Linked DNA regions of Homo sapiens: all the other regions are linked to region 1. Evidence: promoter capture Hi-C in 16 types of primary human blood cells and fetal thymus (Javierre and others, 2016). All regions are on one chromosome and are shown on one strand. The core of a region is centred on a gene start or on the middle of the fragment in contact, and the rest is flanking DNA. Distances in the headings are between cores, read along the strand shown. Region 1 holds the start of ATP6V1H (ATPase H+ transporting V1 subunit H). Region 2 overlaps NPBWR1 (neuropeptides B and W receptor 1). Region 3 has its middle 21 kb from the start of NPBWR1. Region 4 has its middle 50 kb from the start of NPBWR1. Region 5 has its middle 76 kb from the start of NPBWR1. Region 6 overlaps LOC100129098.

Evidence for each region. The method cuts DNA at HindIII sites, captures the fragments that hold promoters and counts their contacts. A CHiCAGO score of 5 or more calls a contact.
Region 2: a fragment that was not itself captured here is called in contact with the fragment with the promoter of ATP6V1H in region 1 in 9 of 17 cell types (naive CD8 T cells, fetal thymus, naive CD4 T cells and 6 more); the score reaches 9.0 in naive CD8 T cells.
Region 3: a fragment that was not itself captured here is called in contact with the fragment with the promoter of ATP6V1H in region 1 in 12 of 17 cell types (M2 macrophages, naive CD8 T cells, fetal thymus and 9 more); the score reaches 8.7 in M2 macrophages.
Region 4: a contact is called between a fragment that was not itself captured here and the fragment with the promoter of ATP6V1H in region 1, in 2 of 17 cell types (naive B cells and total B cells). The highest score is 6.2, in naive B cells.
Region 5: a contact is called between a fragment that was not itself captured here and the fragment with the promoter of ATP6V1H in region 1, in 1 of 17 cell types (fetal thymus). The highest score is 6.5, in fetal thymus.
Region 6: a fragment that was not itself captured here is called in contact with the fragment with the promoter of ATP6V1H in region 1 in 1 of 17 cell types (megakaryocytes); the score reaches 5.4 in megakaryocytes.

The regions. Positions count from the first base shown.
Region 1 is chr8:53,841,788-53,844,968 of GRCh38, reverse strand. ATP6V1H (ATPase H+ transporting V1 subunit H) reads left to right here and starts at 1,724. Exons shown (of 14, transcript NM_015941.4): 1 at 1,724-1,935. RefSeq lists enhancers at 289-338, 1,636-1,775 and a silencer at 1,416-1,565. The HindIII fragment of the contact is 7,596 bases long and covers 1-3,181 here.
Region 2 is chr8:52,940,754-52,943,934 of GRCh38, reverse strand. It overlaps NPBWR1 (neuropeptides B and W receptor 1), which reads right to left. Exons shown (of 2, transcript NM_005285.5): 2 at 201-3,181. The coding sequence ends at 3,041. Among named protein-coding and RNA genes, the nearest start is that of NPBWR1, 3.2 kb to the right of the region's middle. The HindIII fragment of the contact is 5,917 bases long and covers 1-3,181 here.
Region 3 is chr8:52,958,652-52,961,832 of GRCh38, reverse strand. No RefSeq gene overlaps it. Among named protein-coding and RNA genes, the nearest start is that of NPBWR1, 21 kb to the right of the region's middle. The HindIII fragment of the contact is 6,943 bases long and covers 1-3,181 here.
Region 4 is chr8:52,987,799-52,990,979 of GRCh38, reverse strand. No RefSeq gene overlaps it. Among named protein-coding and RNA genes, the nearest start is that of NPBWR1, 50 kb to the right of the region's middle. The HindIII fragment of the contact is 1,412 bases long and covers 1,026-2,437 here.
Region 5 is chr8:53,013,435-53,016,615 of GRCh38, reverse strand. No RefSeq gene overlaps it. Among named protein-coding and RNA genes, the nearest start is that of NPBWR1, 76 kb to the right of the region's middle. The HindIII fragment of the contact is 2,934 bases long and covers 206-3,139 here.
Region 6 is chr8:54,465,322-54,468,502 of GRCh38, reverse strand. It overlaps LOC100129098, which reads left to right. Exons shown (of 2, transcript XM_041680557.1): 2 at 961-2,909. The coding sequence ends at 1,715. Among named protein-coding and RNA genes, the nearest start is that of SOX17, 9.0 kb to the right of the region's middle. The HindIII fragment of the contact is 2,492 bases long and covers 493-2,984 here.

The sequences.
Region 1 (3,181 bases), core at 475-2,974:
ATAGCACCCCAATTCTGAACTTTCAACCTCCAGAACTGTGAGAAAATGACTTTCTGTTGTTTATAAGCCACCCAGTCTACAGCACTGTTACAGGAGCCTGAATGGACCAAGAAAAATCTCCGATAGAAGTGTTACAGAAATAATGTTAAGAGAGATAATGCCGGGAGTACCTGCCTCTTCTCTTCTCCCTACTCCAGGCAAATTGTCTGGTAATGTTGTGATGCTCGGAGAACGCCAGCCCAGGTGCCTGTGAAGCAGTCCCCTCTGCTCACTGCACTGTTCCTGATTTTGTTCCATAACTTTGTGCCTCTAGGAAAAGAGGAGAGCCTCCCGAAATCTGATGAGACTCGCTGTATCACGCCAGTCTGTGGCTTAGGTGATACAGAAAGGAAATGCGAAGATCAGGCCTCACTGCCAGCTTTGCTCAGTTACACAGAAAACATGCTGTTTCAGCTTTTGGGAGTTTCTTAGTACACGATCGGTTTCTTTTTCTCTTTTATGAAAGTTTTTCCCCTTAGATTTGCTTTCAAAACAACAGACTTTCACTTCTGGCTAAGACAGAATGAGTGACCTAGTACAATCTTTGACACTGTTATTATATATCTTTATTCATAATCAATGCATGATTTTGATTATTCTGACTTTAATTTTACGAGTAAAAATGGGTTGGTTATAAATCCCTTTCAAAGAATTTTTTTTTTTTCTTTTTGAGACGGAGTTTTGCTTTTTCTGCCCAGGCTGGAGTACAATGGTGCGGTCTTGGCTCACTGCAACCTCTGCCTCCTGGGTTCAAGTGATTTTCCTACCTCAGCCTCCCAAGCAGCTGGGATTACAGGCATGCGCCACCACACCCAGCTAATTTTTTGTATTTTTAGTAGAGATGGGGTTTCACCATGTTGGTCAGCTGGTCTCGAACTCCAGACCTCAGGTGATCCACTGGCCTCGGCCTCCCAAAGTGCTGGGATTACAGGAGTGAGCCACCGCGCCCGGCCCCTTTCATTGCTTTTTAAGGAAAACATGCTATCATATATACTTCACCTCCAGGGCAGTACATTCTTACTTTAAGGCAAAGACAGTTGCTGAGGCCTGGACTAGGGGAAAATTTGGGCTCCAGATGGGACTGTTGGATAAAATACCAGACGTCCTGTAAATGTGAATTTTAGATAAACAACGAATAACTTTTTAGTATAAAAGTAAATACTGCAATGGAATTTATTATTTGCTAAATGTGCAACCCTAGGTTAAGAGAGCTTTTCAGACCCACTTCTCAGCCCGAGTTTTCTATTTAAAATCAGAATAAGAACGCCTGCTTCATGGAGCTGTTAAATCCAAATGGAAATTAATTTGAAAGCGCGAAATCAAACTTTTCAAAAGAATGACGGTTACAATAAGAGCGTTTTGGCCTCTGCTAGCTGCTTCCGGGCGGAGGTCCTCGGCCTCCCCTAGGCGAGGCACTAGGTCTGGGGGCGGCGGGTCTTAGCGTGCCCGCCACGCTCGCCGCCTCCCACCTGCCCTGGCTGGCTGGGGCCCGACCCTTGCGTCGCTCCGGGGCCCAAGTTACGGACTCGGGAATCCAGTTGTCCGCACCGAACAAGCCCCGCCGCAGCGCCCGCCCCTCCTCTTGCTGCTTTGGAGTCTCCCGGCTTCCGCCTTCCGCAGCAGTCACGTGCCTCCGATCACGTGACCGGCGCCTCTGTCATTCTACTGCGGCCGCCCTGGCTTCCTTCTACCTGTGCGGCCCTCAACGTCTCCTTGGTGCGGGACCCGCTTCACTTTCGGCTCCCGGAGTCTCCCTCCACTGCTCAGACCTCTGGACCTGACAGGAGACGCCTACTTGGCTCTGACGCGGCGCCCCAGCCCGGCTGTGTCCCCGGCGCCCCGGACCACCCTCCCTGCCGGCTTTGGGTGCGTTGTGGGGTCCCGAGGATTCGCGAGGTAAGGCCGCCCTCGCGTTGTTTGGTCTCAGGCTGCAGACCAGGTCAGGCGACTCTTGCAGTTTCTCCAGCTTGCCTGGTGCGTGCTGGTGTCTCGCCGCTTGGTCCTCTCCTGTTCTTCGGCCCCCGGTTGCCAGATTGCTTTTCTTCCAGGCCTCAACCAGGTTTATTAAGCGAAATTCTGGAGCCTTTCTCGCAGGGGGAAGAAACGTCAGGGGCGGGCAGGAGAGTGGAGGGGGAGGGGTAAAAAGTATACCTTCTCCAGGACTGGGCCACGGCCCTGGATCGCTGGGGGTGCGAGTAGTTCAGGGACTTAGGTAATTGTCTAGAGACACCTTGAGCTACGCCAGGACGGGCCGCTGAGGCTGAGCCTCCTTGGCTGCAGAGTTCCAGCCTGGCCCAGTTGAAGCCTGTTTTTTCCTGGGCCCTGTCGTTCGCGCTGCCCAGGGTTGTTTATACAGCAAATCTTCAGATACAGAGATTAAGTTCCAAATTGATTAAGATCGTTGGAAACCCGGAATATAATTTTGGGTAGGATTTTAACTTCTTTGTGGCCATGGCCGTGAATTTATGTTTTGCAAGTGGCAACCTGTATTTTGCTTTGTGTTAAAATCAGTCGTTTGTATCTGGAAGTTTAGGAGTGAGAATTACATAGAATTTCATTATTGTAGGTTCTTGTCGTCCAGCCAGACCGCCATTGTTGGCTTACCTAAATTGTAATATGTATTTGTTCTAAAACTTTCTCTCCGAATTTTGATTTTGCAAATACTATGAATTTTGTTTGAAAAGGAAAGCACTGTCTTCTAAGAAATTATGTTCCCACTTTGTGTATTTTAATTTGAGTAATTTTCGAAAGGACTTAGAATTTTTAATGTGCCACTTCAAAATGATGCTTAGTAAATGTTTATAAAACTAGCCTTATCCGTACTATTCATATTCTTATTGTTTCTCTATGAGAAAAGTTAACCACAATTGTATAAATTTACAATTTTTCCCATATTTATACCTATTCTATTTAATCATGATTTCTGATTTCAGTATATTAGGTGATTGCTTTAAAAATCTTACTGCAGTGTTAGTGCCAATAATGAAAAAAATTTTTCTAGAAAAGCAAAAGCCTAAAGAACTCTTTTATGGAGCAGTGGACAATATTTGAAATATAATGATACTTTCAGACTTAGGACATTTAATATTTGAGTTGAATGCCTGGGGAGATTAAAGTGATCACGATATTCATAATCATAATA
Region 2 (3,181 bases), core at 298-2,797, 900 kb after region 1:
TGCATCATTTTCACAATCAACCAAATTAAGGGGTGGGGGTGTTCATTCTTAATTTTGTCCTGTCAAATACTTCTATTTATTCATTGAGTATTCATTGGATCACTTTTCCAATGAAGGCAGTATTTTTAAATAGTAACACTGCACAAATGCTAAGGTGACTTAATTGTGGATAACTTGTTCTCAGAAAATAGAATGTTCACTTATCACACAGAATGTTTCAGCTTTTATTTTAAACTGAGCTCCTCTACAATGGACTACAGAGTTTCTGCGTTTGTCAAGAGAAAACATAAGCATACACATTACATAACTGCACTAAATTAAGTAAAAGCAAATAGACATTTTTAACTATTCAAAGTGGTAAAACCAAACCATAGAGTTTACACAGAAACTGCAAGAATTCAACACAGTGTTAAAACCTTTGCAATACAATGATGTGAATAAATTCTACTTTTGCCTGGCTTATGTGTGTATTTATTCAACCGATTACCCAAGACATAAAAAGGAAGCCTGAGATATACAGTCTACATGCTCGTATGAAGGGCAACGACCTAGAAATAATGATACAACAGTTTATCCAGTGATCAGAAAGCCCAGGAGGAACTCAACTGCTGAGACCTGATTAATCCCACAGGCATACTCAGAAGCCAGTCCATGCCTTGCTGGGGATGAACAGCAATGTCAGCCCGTGTATTTTTCCAGCAGTCATCTCCATAGATTCCAAGAAGGCTCGAGGTCAATCTACTGTAGGGATGAAACAGTGGACAGATGGATCACTCAGCTGTCCCCCATCTGAGTCCAGTTACTGAGCTTATTAAGACAGATGAGATACTGAATCCAGACAATCACTCCAGCTGTGTTTGTAGCCAAATGTTCACCTTACTCTTTGTCCATCACCTTAGGTAATCTAGAAGTTACTCTAAGTTTAAAACTTTAATTTTGAAAAGTTACAGAGGATTCATGAGATAATTTTGAGAGTTTAAGGAAAATCAATAGAATGTTTCCTAGAAATTCGAAAGATATTAAAATGAATTCCAAGAAGCCTCCGAAGCCGGCCAGCAGAGAGAGGCCTGTTCAAATGCCATGAGGTCCACCACTCGAAACTCATTGTAGATGAAAACTTTCTTTTAAACAATTTACTATTATTTGCCACCCAAGACAGAAGGTTTTTTAATGTATATTTTCTAAACTGATGGCTATGAATTATTTCAATGTTCCTAAAAACTCTGAGAGCTAAGAAAGCAATTCTTATTCACCAAAATTAGAGAGGGGGTTTGCTTCCCCCCATTCCAAGGGGGAGTTTTTTCCTTCCAAATATTTATTAAAAGCTATTTTCAACCTAAATAATTGAGAAATTGATTGAAGATGCCAAACTAAGCAAACAAAATGTGCTGCAACACTCACATTTTTTTTTCTCACACATGACATAGGAAACAAACATTTGTAGAAATTTTCATCCTGTTTGGACTTCATCCTAAAGATTAATACCTTTTAAAACACCATAATCAATTACCAGACTTTGCTTAGGGTTCGGCCCTCATGTCTAAGGCTAAACTGCAGAGGATTGGGCAAACCCAATGCCAGTCCTCTCTCTTAATCCACTTTGTCTTCCATATGCAGAGACAAAAACACAGGTAGGATGCTGGCCAATCTCCCTGGTGACTCCAGGACCAGTATTTACCCGGTTTACCGGGACTACCTACCGGATGCCGTCTACAAGTAAGGAATAAAGCCCAGGTAATCCACAGCTCCCTGTGAAAAGTACAGCAGAGAAAACCTGAAGCCGTCGGTCATCCCTGCTTCCTGCTCTCCCTAAGGCGGAGCCAAGGAAGCAGAGGAGAAAGGGAACACAAGAGAATAGATCGCATTTCTTTTTATCTTATTTGATCTTCATGGCAACTCGTGAGATTAGGACATGTACATTATTTATAAAGTTTTCAGTCCTGAAAAACAGTACACACATGAACAGTTACAACAAACTGATCTAAGTAAGACAAGAGACGAGGCCAATTGGGGGAATGGGGGTGGGGCTTGGCATCCTCTATAAGCAACGATGACCAGTGTGCCACAGCGCTGTGAAGCGCGCTCAGCCGGAGTGCTCCACCACAAAGCCCCGCGATCCTCCGACGCTAAGCACTCGGCCGCTGGCTCCTCCAGGGGGCGCCGGAACCGCGCGCCCGGGCTACTCCGGGTTCCTTGCTCCGGGAGTCTGACATTTTCAGGGGAGATCACGGATAGGAAAGGGAAAAGGCAAAGAAAAGGAGTAGGGGCAGACAGAAAGAAGGATCACTATTCGTATCATATTCTAGGCAGTCACTGCCAAGCGCCAGCCTCTTTCCCCGCATTTCATGCCTCCGCAAACGCGCGCACACCACACACACACACACACAGGTGTATACACACTCCGATGGGGCATCCCGAGTTGTTGTGTTTTCCCCAGTTGAAGAGGCGCTGGCGGCCTCGGCAGCGGTCCCCGCCCGCGGCGCCAGGCCAAGCGGGTCTCACAGGGGTGGGCGCCAAACGCGCGCGCCTGACCGTCTTCCCAGAGCGCGCGGAGGACAAGGGGACCCGCCGGGGCTGTGCGCCAGCTACAGCAGGGGCCGCGCGGAGCCGACGCCTGGGGGCGCCGGCAGCGTCCTCGGGCCTCCCTTCGAAGGCGCGGAGAGTTCCGACTCCAGCCAGGTTCCAGACTGCCAGGGCTCGGGTGGGGCAGCAGGGAGCAGGGCAGGGAGGGGGCGGTTCCCAGCAATACCGCCCTCCTCCTCTACCCTCCTCTTCCTCCACCTCGGCTTTAGGGAGCCCTCAGTGTGGCGATCTCAGCCTCAGTTCTCCTCACCCGGCATGGCCGCGCATCACCTGGAGGGCTTGGCAAGGTCAACCTGCGGGCACAGTCGCAGCGCTTCCGATCTGCTAGGTCGGGTATGGGGCGCGAGTCGGTTTCCCCAGGAGGCCTAGGCGGCCTGTCTGGTCCCGCACTCTGGCGCCGGCTCCTCCCTCGCTGGCCAGGAGTGGCGGGCAGTTGCGGAGCCGGACGCTGGGGGAGTCAGGCTGCCGCGCGGCAAGTTATCAGCTGGCGGAGGTTCCTGCGGAAGCTGGCGTCCAGGAAGGCGTAGAGGAAGGGGTTGAGGCAGCTGTTGGCGTAGCTCAGGCTGGTGATGAAGTAGGAGATAGCGATGACCAGCGG
Region 3 (3,181 bases), core at 455-2,954, 880 kb after region 1:
TCAGGAGCCCAGCTGGCTTCACCTAGTGGATCCCGCACCAGGGCCGCAGGCAGAGCTGCCCGCCAGTCCCGTGCCTTGTGCCCACATTCCTCAGCCCTTGGACGGTTGATGGGACTGCGTGCCATGGAGCAGGGTGCAGTGATCGTCAGGGAGGCTCGGCCCTGCAGGAGCCCACAGCAGGGGGGAGGCTTGTGGATGATGGGCTGCAGGTCCCGAGCCCTGCCCTGCGGGGAGGCAGCTGAGCCGGCAGGCCCACACTGCTGGGGGACCTGGTGGACCCTCTGCAGCTGCTGGCCTGAGTGCTAAGCCTCTCACTGCCTGGGGCCAGTGGCACCGGCCGGCCGCTCTGAGTGCGGGGCCTGCCGAGCCCATGCCCACCCAGAACTCGCACTGGCCAAAAAGCGCTGTGCACAGCCCCAGTATCACCCACAACTCTCACTCCACACATCCCCGCAAGCAGAGGGAGACGGCTCCAGCCTCTGCCAGTCCAGAGAGTAGATCCCACAGTGCAGCGGTGGGCTGAAGGGCTCCTCAAGTGTGGCCAGAGTGGGCACCAAGGCCAAGGAGGCACCAAGAGTGAGCGAGGGCTGCCAGCATGCTGTCACCTCTCAATCCACCCTCTAAACAGGACACCCCAACTACTGTTGGGAATTTGGCCGATGACCACTCTAGCTAATTCCTGTTGGATGGGGTGATGAAGGGGCCCTGTAGTTGTAGTGTTCTCCAGAGGGGAACTCTCTAGGGCAGTGAAAGTGCCCACGAGTCAGTCCAGGGTCCTCGGTAGAAGTCGTTAGTTGAACTCATTTGGGGTTCCATTTGTAAGACCATCTGTAAGTTGATGACCTCAATTCTAGAGGAAACAAATTTGACAAGAAGGTTAAAAATACAGGGTCCAAAGGTGAGTAACAGCAAGATGGCTGCCACGGGACCTAGAAAGGGGAGAAGCCACGTTGCCCAGCTCCAGAGGTTGGTATAAGAATTTGAAAGGCGTTGCCTGATTTCAGAAGCCTTTTCCTGTAAATGCCGGGTGGCATCTTGTACTATCTCCGACTGGTTAGTGTAAAAACAACACTCTTCCCCTAAGAAGGTGCAGAGTCCTCCTTTCTCAGCAGTGAGGAGGTCTAGGCCTCAGCAGTTTTGGAGAGTCACTGCTGCCGAAGAGTCTATTTGGGATTGTAAAGTAAGGATAGTTTTTTTATTTCTTGCAAACTGTCTGAGAAATCCTTTCAGAGTGTGTAGGATAATGAAGTAGATAAACCAGCTATTCTGTTTCCTGTAGCAGTAGCCATTCCTAACCCTATAAGTAAGGGTATTAGTAGTATGGCTCTTCGCTGACAGACTTGAGCTTTGAGGGGTACTGATAGGGTTTGATTTCCTGGGGCAATGTTAATGTTGTGACTTAGAAAGACTAAGGTGCAGGTGTCGGTCCAGTTAGTGGGGAGGCAGATATAAGTCAGTGTTCCACATAAGAACAATATGCCTTGTCTGGGTAGACAGAAATTTACCCTGACTTTTAAAGGAATAGGGTACACTGTTTTTTTCTTTACTACTTCCATTTCTCTTTCTTTCTCTTTGACTTCTTCTTTGTCTCTTTCTCTCTTTTTGACTCTCTCCTTGACTTTCTCTTTGACTTTCTCTTTGACTTTCTGTGTCTGTCTCTCTCTCTCTCTCCTTTTCTTTCTCTCTGTTTCTTCCTCTCTCTCTCTTTGACTTTCTGTCTCTTTCCTTTCTGCTGCCTCCACCAGCTGCTCATGCTGCTGTTCTCCCCTCTCCTTCCCCTCTTTGATGGCTTTGGCAGTGTAAGACTGCCACCTCCTTGGATTTTTGCATTACGTGCAATAACTCCGTAGTTTCCTTTTGATGCTCAATGGGGGTTCCCCCAGAAGTCAGGAACTCCCTTTCTTTCTATATTCAGCATGGACATGTAGGATTAGATAAGCATACTTGCTGTCTGTATACACACTTATTCTTTTTCCCTTTCCCAGTTCTGAGGCTCCGGAAAGTGTCACTAGTTCCGCTAACTGGGCACTGGTCCCTGGGGGAAGAGGCTTACATTCAAGTATGGTTACATCACTAACTATGGCATAACCTGTCCTTCGTATCCCATTCTCTACAAATGAACTTCCATCAGTATATAGGTTAAGGTCAGGATTAGCTAAGGGGACTTTTAAGAGATCATCTCAGGTGGCATAAGTCTGGAGTATAATTTGTTGGCACTCATGCTCAATTGGTTCCCCATCCTCTGGGAGAAAAGTGGCAGGGTTGAGGGCCACGCATGTGTGTATTTGAAGCACCAGTCCCTCAAGGAGTAGCGCCTGGTATCTAAGTAGGTGGTTGTCTGATAGCCATAAACTCCATAAACTTCCTTTGGCAACTAGTATGCCATTTACATCATGAGTAGTACAGACAGTGAGATCCTTTCCTTGTATCATTTTGATAGCCTCTGACACTAAGATGGCCACTGCTGCAACTACCCATAAACAGTGAGGCCAGCCTTTTGCTACTACATCAATTTCCTTACTTAGTTGTGCCACTGGTTGTGGAGTTGTCCCACGAGTCTGAGTAAGGACTCCAAGAGCTATCCCTGCTCTCTCTGTGACATATAAAGAAAAGTTTTGTCCTGTAAGAAGGCTTAAAGCTGGATCTTGTACTAGGGCCTGCTTTAAGGTTTTGAAGGCTGTTTCTGCCTCTGGTTCCCATTCTACTAGATGAGTATTTGCCCTCTGGGTTTCCTTGATTACAGTATAGAGGGGTGTGGCTATCTCGCTGTATCCGAGGATCCATAGTAGGGAAAAGCCGGTACTTCCAAGGAACCCCCACAACTGTTTTAATGTCTTAGGGTGAAGATAAGCCAGTATAGGCTGTATTCATTCCTTGCTGATGGCCCTGGTCCTGCTGGCTAAGATTAAGCCTAGATATTTGGCCTGCTGTAGGCAAAGCTGGGCCTTTGACCTAGACACCTTATACCCTTGATTAGCTAGAAAGTTCAAGAGATCTAGAGTAGCCTGCTGGCAGGAGGCTTCCGAACTGGTAGCCAAAAGTAAATCATCCACATACTGAAGGACCAGACTGCCTGGACTTGAGAAGTGGCCTAGATCTTGGGCCAGTGCCTGATCAAACAGATGAGGGCTATCCCTAAACCCTTGGGGCAAGACCGTCCACATAAGTTGGGATGTTTGGT
Region 4 (3,181 bases), core at 482-2,981, 850 kb after region 1:
CTTCCTGTTTCCTCTTTCTTGAAGCCTCTATCCCAGACATCTGCACTTTTCCTTCTTCACTTCCTTCCAGTCTGTCACAGTAAGGACCTGCCCAGGACACCTTATGTGAAATTTCGTCATGCTGTCTCATCATTTTGTATCCCCATTTTTATCTTTATTTTTTCTCCTAACCACTCATTGCTCTCAACAGGCTATATATTTTATACCTTTTGTTTCTGTTCTATCCCCCCATGGTGTATAAGTTCCATGAGCACAGGACATTTTACTTGTTTTATTCACTTCTGAGTCCCCAAAAGCAAAAACAATGCCCAGCCTACAAAAGGCACTCAATAAATATCTGTTAAATAATTCAATAAGACAGTCTCAACATTCTAAAAACTTAAGAATATCACAATGGGTATTGCAGTTTAGAATGTACAAAGCACTCTCCCAGAACTTCTCTCATAAGGTGGATATCACTTCCATTTTACCAATGAAGAAACTGATTTCAGCAACTTAAGAGATGTGCCCTAATCTCATGGCTGGGAAGTGGCAGAATCTGGGTGTCCAATGCCCATGCCCAAAGCTTTTTCTACCAGCCTTGACATGTTTTTCCAAAGATCATGCTTGCTTCCCTGTTCGTATCTGCTTTGTTTCCATAGAGCTTCTCACCGACACTGTTGACAACAATGGCCTCTTGACAGGTCCTCTGCTTCCAGTCTGTCTCTTCTCCAGTCCATCCTTTACACTGACTCCAGAATTAGTTCCTTAATCACAAAATGTAGTTATGCCACTCCCCTGTTTGAAAGTCTTTACTGAAATTCTCACTTCTGCTCTTCTTGGCATTCAAAGCCTGCTAAAGTCCAGACACAGATGCCTTTCCAGCCTATTTCAACCTACGCTCCCAGATGGCCCGCCAGCCGGACCTGTCTGTCACAACTCCATGACGAAGCCTTGAACTTCTGTGCCTCCTTGCATTTCTTTAGTCCTTTTGTCTGAAGTCACTGTTCCTCATCTCCCACCCACCAGGGCCCTTCTTGGAAGCTTTCTGTAAGTCCTTCCTCAGAATTAGCATTTGGCCCTGTTTGGGCATATCTCTTCTTATTCTTGGTAGGGCGGCTCATTGTGTTTATCCTCCAATAGATGTCTATGTCCTGAGCACAGAGATCATCTCTCAATCCTCTCTCTCACCTGCCACCCCACATTGCACCTAAAGTGTACTCCATAAGTATTCTTTTAATTAACATGAATATTTCATAATAGGAAAAGCAGATTCACATGTTTTCTCATTACAGGCATGAAGAGCCTGGGCAAACCAGGGAAATCAAGTTTAAGGCCCATAATCGACCTGGAATTCTCCTCTAAGCACATGGTCTATGCTTTTTCCCTTTTATTTAAAATGATGACAGGCCGGGCATGGTGGCTCACGCCTGTAACCCCAGCACTTTGGGAGGCTGATGCAGGTGGATCACTTGAGGTCAGGAGTTCAAGACCAGCCTGGCCAACATGGTGAAACTCTGTCTCTACTAAAAATACAAAATTAGCCAGGCGTGGTGGTGGGTGCCTATAATCCCAGCTACTTGAGAGGCTGAGGCAGAAGAATCACTTGAATCCGGGAAATGGAGGTTGCAGTGATCGGAGATTGTACCATTGCACTCTAGCCTGGGTAACAGAGTGAGACTCTGTTTCAAAAAAAAAAAAAAAAAAAAGAGTACAATGTATACCCTCCTCCAGTCTGCCTTGTTGTTGGCCTGTGAAGATGGTAGGTTATTGGGTAATGCAAGATTCTCAGTGGAAAGAATGGATTGCAACTGAGAGAGGGCCATTTCCTTCCTAAGGCTTTTCAGTCCCTGCTCTCCTTTCTCCCTAAGATAACAAAGGGCAGCGCCTGGCCCAGTGCCTGCATGAGAGGAAGGACTCCATTACAGCAACCCCCTGGGCCTTTCTACTCACTCTGGCTGCTTCTTACGTTTCTTTCTTTAGAAATATTTTTCTCCTTATTCTGGAAGGTAAAACTCAACATAATTAGCCAGATGTATATTAAAGAAAAAATGTTGACCTTATTTTCCACATTTAATAAAAGCTAAGGTCTTACGTGTTCATTATGAACAATAATAGCCTTGTGTCTATACAAGAAAAAAAGCTGAAACCATAACGTACCTACACTTTGATGTTTTAATCATGCATTTCTGTGCCAACCAATTCCAAGTTTTGGCAGACTGTGAGATATTTTTCTTTCACTTAATTTTTTCATAACAAGCCATAGGAGACGAACTACTCACAAAGTGGAAGATTCAAATGTATACCCAGTGCTGTCAGCCAAGTATATGTGAGACTGCTTACCTGATTAAGGGCTGGCTTTCTAGGTCCAGAGGTGAAACTAATACACAAGTTATTTTTGCTCTGAATGAGTGAGCCTTTGACAAATTCATGAAGCATGATTAAATGTTAATAAGCTTAATACCACCTCTTGGCTGGGCGCCGTGGCTCATGCCTGTAATCCCAGCACTTTAGGAGGCCAAGGCTGACAGATCACCTGAGGTCAGGAGTTCAAGACCAGCCTGACCAACATGGAGCCCGTCTCTAATAAAAATACAAAATTAGCCAGGCGTGGGGCGCATGCCTGTAATCCCAGCTACTCAGGAGGCTGGGGCAGGAGAACTGCTTGAACCTGGGAGGCGGAGGTTGTAGTGAGCCGAGATCACGCCATTGCACTCCAGCCTGGGCAACCATAGCAAAACTCTGACTCAAATAATAATAATAAGAAGAAGAAGAAACCTCTTGTCCTATTCCTGGAGGGTTACAGTAAAGGGTTCCTTACCATTTCCCCATTCCAGATACATGGACACAGGTGGCAGGGAAAGGAAGTGGAGGTCCTGAAAGATTGTGGGTCTCCAAAGAAGCCCAGCCTCCATCACTGGCCCAGAGGAAGGGCACTCCAGTGACCGACTGCAACAGAAGGGGCCTGCTACACTACTCTGCCTTAGGTGCGGCCACTGAGCCCTGTCCTCTCCATCTCTGAGGCCAAGCACATGACCCTCTCCAGGGTTAGGGTTGAGCTGCCTAGACATAAACACCTCACCAACTGTTTATGAATACACAACTAAAACCCAATCACACTTATTTTCCAACATTTCAAATCCAGGTGCTTAAATTCAAACTACGTGTTATAATAAAGTTGCACCAGCTGGCTTTATATTTA
Region 5 (3,181 bases), core at 423-2,922, 830 kb after region 1:
GCATTCAGTTAGTCTCTTGAATGGATAATGATTTTTCGTAAAGTATCTAGACTTACAAATTCTGTATTATAGGAGTTCATAGTTTTTGCCTTGAACAGAATTAAAATTATAAGTAGAAATAAATGCTAGTTCAGAATAGTGTTATTTTAGATCAGGTACAATGAGCATTTATCTTAAAATGTTTCAGACTTTCCTATGAAAAGCTTACTTCAATATATTTTCCTCATTTTACCTGAATTTTAATAAATGTAATTTTAATTAATGACAGCATCAATTCAGATCCACTGAAATAACTTAATCAACCTTTTATTTTAAACTGCGATTTTGAAATATAGAAAGAATGTATTCCAACACTGCACTGAGAAAGAAGGCCTAAAACTTCAACAAAGTATTTAAATAACTTAATGAGATAGAAGATACATTCCTATTTTTACTATCCTCTACTGAGACTATTTGGTAAAAGTCAGATTTGTTTAAAAGAAATCATAAGGGAAAACTGAAAATTCTAATGCAATGTAAGTATATATAAATATTATATTTATAAAGCATACATGATCATTCAAGGTAAATGAGCTATCACATCTAAAGCAGCTGGATGATAGATGAATATATGAAAAATTTTCTTTCTTTAAAGTTGTTATGCAGTTGCATAAATGCAAAATGCAATTGTTCTTAAGGAAAGAACATTTTAGTGTTTAAAAATTCACCTCAGACATCTTTTCTAACAGATTTTCTCTTCTAACAGGCTAATAGAATGAATTTTTTTCTATAATAATTTAGACCTTTTGTCCTAATGGTGCCTAAAAAAAGTTCCCATATTTGCAGAATTTTTTTCTAAGAACTTCACTTATCAAAATCACTTGATGAAATCATTCTCCAAATATGTATTGAATATCTGTGGAAGAATTACATTTTTGCACTAACAATTCACAGCCATTTTTCCAGAATTTCTGAACATGAACTAAAATTCAGAAATAAAAATACTCTACTTGAGAATACGTAACGTTGATGCAAATTATAATCTTAATGCAATATGTCTAAATAACAACGAAGAGAGATTCTCTAAGAAAAAATGATGCTTCTGCAGGAATAGGCATTACAATGGGAAGACACATATAGTAACCTATGTGTGCATTCAGGGAGGTAAAAGGAAGGCAAAGTGTCTTAAAGGAGAGATGAGGAGGATTACATAATTGTTTTTGAGATAATTATCCTTGGCTATGGGGATCAATAACAAGAGCAGCACCAGTCTGAGGTTGGACAGGCAGTTGCTGGGCAGAAGTCCTTGAAGAAGTATTTTTGCATGTATGTGTAAGGTTCCAATAGTCTTTGTACTAGCTTGCGGTTTTTGCAGTCTTTTGTGACAGTTACCTTGCTATCAGACCCTTTCTTTCATGGCCTTCCCTGGCTCTATTTGTCAGGCTTTTTTTTTTTTTTTTTTAAAAACACAAGTGGCTTGGTTTTGATTCTGACAACTTTCACAAATACATAGGAATTCCTATGTAAGCTATTTTGCCCATTACTGTTGGTCGCTTTCAGATTAGGTAGAGAAGTGGTAAGGTACGTCACTTAGCACTGGAACTGTAAAAACCAGGTTGCCCTCCATGTTGCCTCCCCCTCTCCTCTTCTTTTCTCCCCCCTGAGTTTTATTGCAAAACTTAAGAAAAAGTGGGATCAACATTTCCAGTGGCATGCTGGAGAAATATACTGATGAATGCTTGAGCAGGGCAGAGATGTGTGCATCTGACAGCAGACCTATGTGTCAGGCTGAATTTCAAAAAAAAAAACCTATTCTGAGGAAGAGGTTTGTGTGCAGGAGGTGGCTGGGAAGTGAAGAAAGCAGGAGTAGGCAGAGAGAGAAGCTGCATTGTGGTGCAGCTGCAACAGAGACCTCAGCCTCCTCTAGGCCATGGGAAGAGGCAAAGCTCTTAACCAGGACCAGAGAACAGGGCTGTCGCTGAATAGCTGCATGACCTTAGCACATCACTGAAAACCTCTGCAACATTTTCTGACAGTTTAGGGTTATACCATGCTGAGTCTCATTTCTTCTTCTATAACACAGAGAAACTGGAAAAGTTTAGTAGCTCCAAAACTGGTTAAAACTTTAGAATCACCCAAGAATTCTTATTAAAGAAACAGATTCCCTGAGTGGCATGTACAGATTCTGACTAGATAGATCTGAGTGGGATGGTTGGGAGAGGGATCAGGGCTGGGAAGGCTAATCTTATGAACGCCCTGAGTGCGTCTGATGGAGTCCTCCAAGCTAGCATCCTAACAGTCTCTAAATCCTGGTAGTTTACTATTCAAACCGTCAGAGGCACATTCAAAAACAGAAACAACATCTATGTAATCAAATATCACTGTGTGGGGCATCTTTGCTGTTTCCACTTCCACTTGTTCTACATATCAGTATAATCTGGGTGAGAAACAGAAAATCTACCTTCTTCATGTACACACATGCATCAGATTCCCACAAACATGGATGAAGTCTTGCAGAAAAGTCATTTAAAAGTAATAAAATGAGCATTTATGTCTGTGAAAGTTAGATAAAAATTCTGAGATCTGAATATTTTCACACCCTCTGAAAGACAACCAATAATTTCACAGTCCAATTTGGGAACATGAGCAATTTTTGTAATACCTTGTCTGTTTCCTGTTACAATGGAAAGACGTCAGAATTGCAGCATTTTATTTCTGAACCTGCAAAGTAATTCAAACAAGAAGAGTAGCAGCTTTCTCCCATCTCTGTCATTGTGATTTCACAATTACCTACCAGTCTTAGGAGATAATTTGTCAAGAAAATGAAAGAATCTTTAGCCTTAAAAATATCCCTCTAACAAATTTTTCATTTATGTAAGGGAATAGATAAGACCATTTCCCATTCAAAACAACCTCCATTATGAGCTAAACCAATTATCCCCCAAGAAAGGAAATAATTCTCAAAGTAGTTACATATTTATATTGAGCTACCCTATAAAGGCAGGCAACAAAACATTACAAAGAAACTACCAACAACTTAACACCTACCCTTTGGAGAATGCTCTGTGAGTTTATAATCAGGTACTATCTCACTTCAACAGAGGCACGAAATTGTCTTAATGGGCCAGTAGATCTACCTGTCAAAACAACTCATTAAGCTTGTTTCTTTTCAGTCAGGTTTCCTCCTTATTAGGGAAGAGGT
Region 6 (3,181 bases), core at 489-2,988, 620 kb before region 1:
TGGCACGCGCCAGTAATCCCAGCTGCTTGGGAGGCTGGGACAGGAGAATCGCTTGAACCCGGGAGGCAGAGGTTGCAATGAGCCGAGATCGCGCCACTGCACTCCAGCCTGGGCGACAGAGCTAGACGTCATCTCAAAAAATAAACAAACAAACTCTGGCCATGTTATTCCTTCTCTTAAAAGCAAAAAACAGGCCAGGCGCGGTGGCACATGCCTATAATCCCAGCACTTTGGGAGACAGAGGCAGGAGGATCGCTTGGGCCCAGGAGGTCCAGGTTGCAGTGAGCTGCGATGCACCACTGCACTCCAGCTTGGGCGACAGAAGGATACCCTGTCAAAAAATAAACAAACAGAAAAGCCGCTCCCTATTAACTTCAAAAGACTCTGGAAAATTAACTCGATGTGTGCACAGGTAGAGGCCATCCTCTCCCAAACTTCAGCAACAAACTAGAGCTCTAGATTGCAACCTGGCTAGCTTGAAATTCTAAAGCTTTAGGCGTTTTCCTGAAAGGCTGTTAAATGTATTTCTAGCTCCATGTGTGGCGAGCAGTTAGAATCTGTAATAACTCAGCACCCATCTCTCAATTCCTTACTCAATAAATGAACAAGGAATACAACTTTTTTTTCTTTTAACTTGGAATAGGGGCATACTTTTTAACTTGGAATAGAGCTGTTTCGTTTTTGCAGAACCTGGCCTAATTAGGCGGCACATTAAAACCTTTCTCCCAAGACTGCAAAATTTTGTGTTATCGTTTATACCTGGAGATAATTAACAATTTGGTTTTGAACTTTTTATTTAATGTCATCTCCAGCTCCCAAGACGAGTCTGCAATTGCCGGTCAAGTCTCCCTAAAGGGAAACACTAAATATGAGAATCGCTAAACACGAAAGAGTTTTCGGAGGTAGAGCCACCGACCGGTTCTTGAGGATGTTCGCCAAGCCCGGCGTCTCCCCGCGCAGAAGCCCAGCCCTCCCACGTCCGGGGTTCCCGGCGCCCGGGTTCCCCGCGCTCCGCCTCCCCCGGCGTCGGGCGCAGCTGGGCGTCAAGCTGGGCGGGGGTCCCTCGCCAGCCTCTGGCGCTCGACCTTCGCCCCACCTGGAAGGCGCCGGATGCGAGACTCGCCCTTGGCTCGGCCCGCGGCCCCGGCCGGCGCCTCGCCCTTCACCTTCAAGTCCCCGAGGGAGCTCGGCAACTCGGCCCAAGGACAGGGGCCCAGCCTAGCCGTCACCGCCGGCAGCGCGCTCCGGGTCTGGCTCTGGTAGTCACTGGCGTATCCCGCATCCGGCCTGCTCACGGCGCTCCAGGCCTGCCCCGCGCGCCGAAACCCTCCGCCGGACGCGGAGGAAAAGAAGGTGGTGAGCGAGGCACGGAGATGCTCCGACGGCTGCGCGGGTCTCCGAGGCCGAACCGCCACCCGCGTTCCGGGCCAGTCCCAGCCCACGGCGTGGCCAGCGCTGCCGCCGGTCCAGCGACACTGCGGGCGCCCCCGGGCCGCGGGGCCTCTTCTGAGACCATGTGGCCCACAGAGAATCTAAGCTCCCGCCGCCGGGCTCCACCTCAACGGCGGAGAACTCGGGCGCCGAGCATCGCCCGATCCCTACCCGGCAGCGGACGGCTACAGGGTTTGATTTTCCCCTCCACAGGAAAGAACGTGCAGAGGCACAAATCCCCTCCTCTTCCCTCAGAGGAAAGCCTGTCCCAGCGGTCCCGCTGAGAACTTCCGAAGCCTTGGCGCGGCAGGCAGGCCCCTGAGCCGGTGCACCGCGAAGTTGCATTCTCACCTTCGAGTCACCGTGGCTTAGGCCGAGTAAACGAGCACTTCATCTAGCGCCGGGCGGGCCCCGGCACCAAGCTAAGAGCTCAAAACTCCTCGAAGCGGGCGCGCGACGTCGCGGTCCGAGCTCTCCTCGCCGCACTCCCCCATCAGACCTAAGATCTTTTACCTTTTAAATTAAAGTGAATCCAGATCCTTGTTAATGCGGCCTAATGTAGCAGCGGGAAGAGTGTAGGTCCCTGGCGAGGGGAGCGCGCTCCGGTGACCTCTAGCGCCTCAGACGCCCGCGCAGGAGGAACTCCCGCAGCCCGCCCGGGACCCGAGGGCAGGAGGGTGCGGGGAACGGGGCTGCCACTGCGCCTAAGCCTTTCCCCTTTTATAGGCTTTAGGGAAACAAATCCTCTTTTCCTAGTGGATGTAAGAAGTGAGTGAATTTAAAGTCACAGCCACGGCGGTAAGCGGCCCCAATTGTCTGGGATTCATAATGCTGTTAATATACACACGTATATGTAACAGCACTTTGCAGGTATACATACATATATATTATATGTATTTTTTTTCATATGACGTTTGCATCAATATTCTGCGTGCTGTCCCTCCCCCACCCCAACCCCAATCTGTTTTTAAAAATCCACCTCCGCAGAAGAGGAGAGGAGTGCTTCAGGGAAGGGTGGAGGCATCCATGTCCTCACCTTTCCCAGTGAGGAATCGAGACTTCCCGCCTTCGCGATGGAACTAGAAAAGGGTATGTAGTCCTGGACTTTAAAAGACAATTAACAGAAGTGGAAATAAGGATGTAACTATATTCCGAGGAAGAGCGGGCAGGAAATTCTTAGCTGTCGTAGCAGAAAGTAAATGTCTAAAACTCATAAGCCTAAAATTAGCCATGCAGGTACATTAATTAATTAACCACTAGACAAGCAGAATTATTAATGTAGGTAATGCCCAGTAGGGGGAAGAAAAAAGGAATTGATTCTGACCTGTGGCACTGGGGCTGGGGAGAGATGGAAACTTCTGACAACTCTGTTTATATTACAAGCCCGTCTGCAATGTTGTTTGAGTTGTTGTAAGCGTGTGCATCATTTACATTTTTAAAATTATTTTTAAATGAATAAAACAATAATGTTTTCTATATCCACAGTCTCGTTATTGAAACTACAAACCTAAATTTTTATTTTCTATTTTTCCTTCCTGTTATCTCAGTAAGCTTTTTCAGGTCAATATTCTTGGTGCGCATGTGTGCACCTCTGATCCTTACTATTGTATTCAAACGTCCAAACAAATATTTATTTTAAAAAGCAGAAAAATCCACTATATAGGGGGCAGCTATAAAATTGCTCCTTCCATTTTGCTGGTGTCTACTAATTTTCTTCTATCAGTCCGTCCATATCCATCAGTTCACAGAA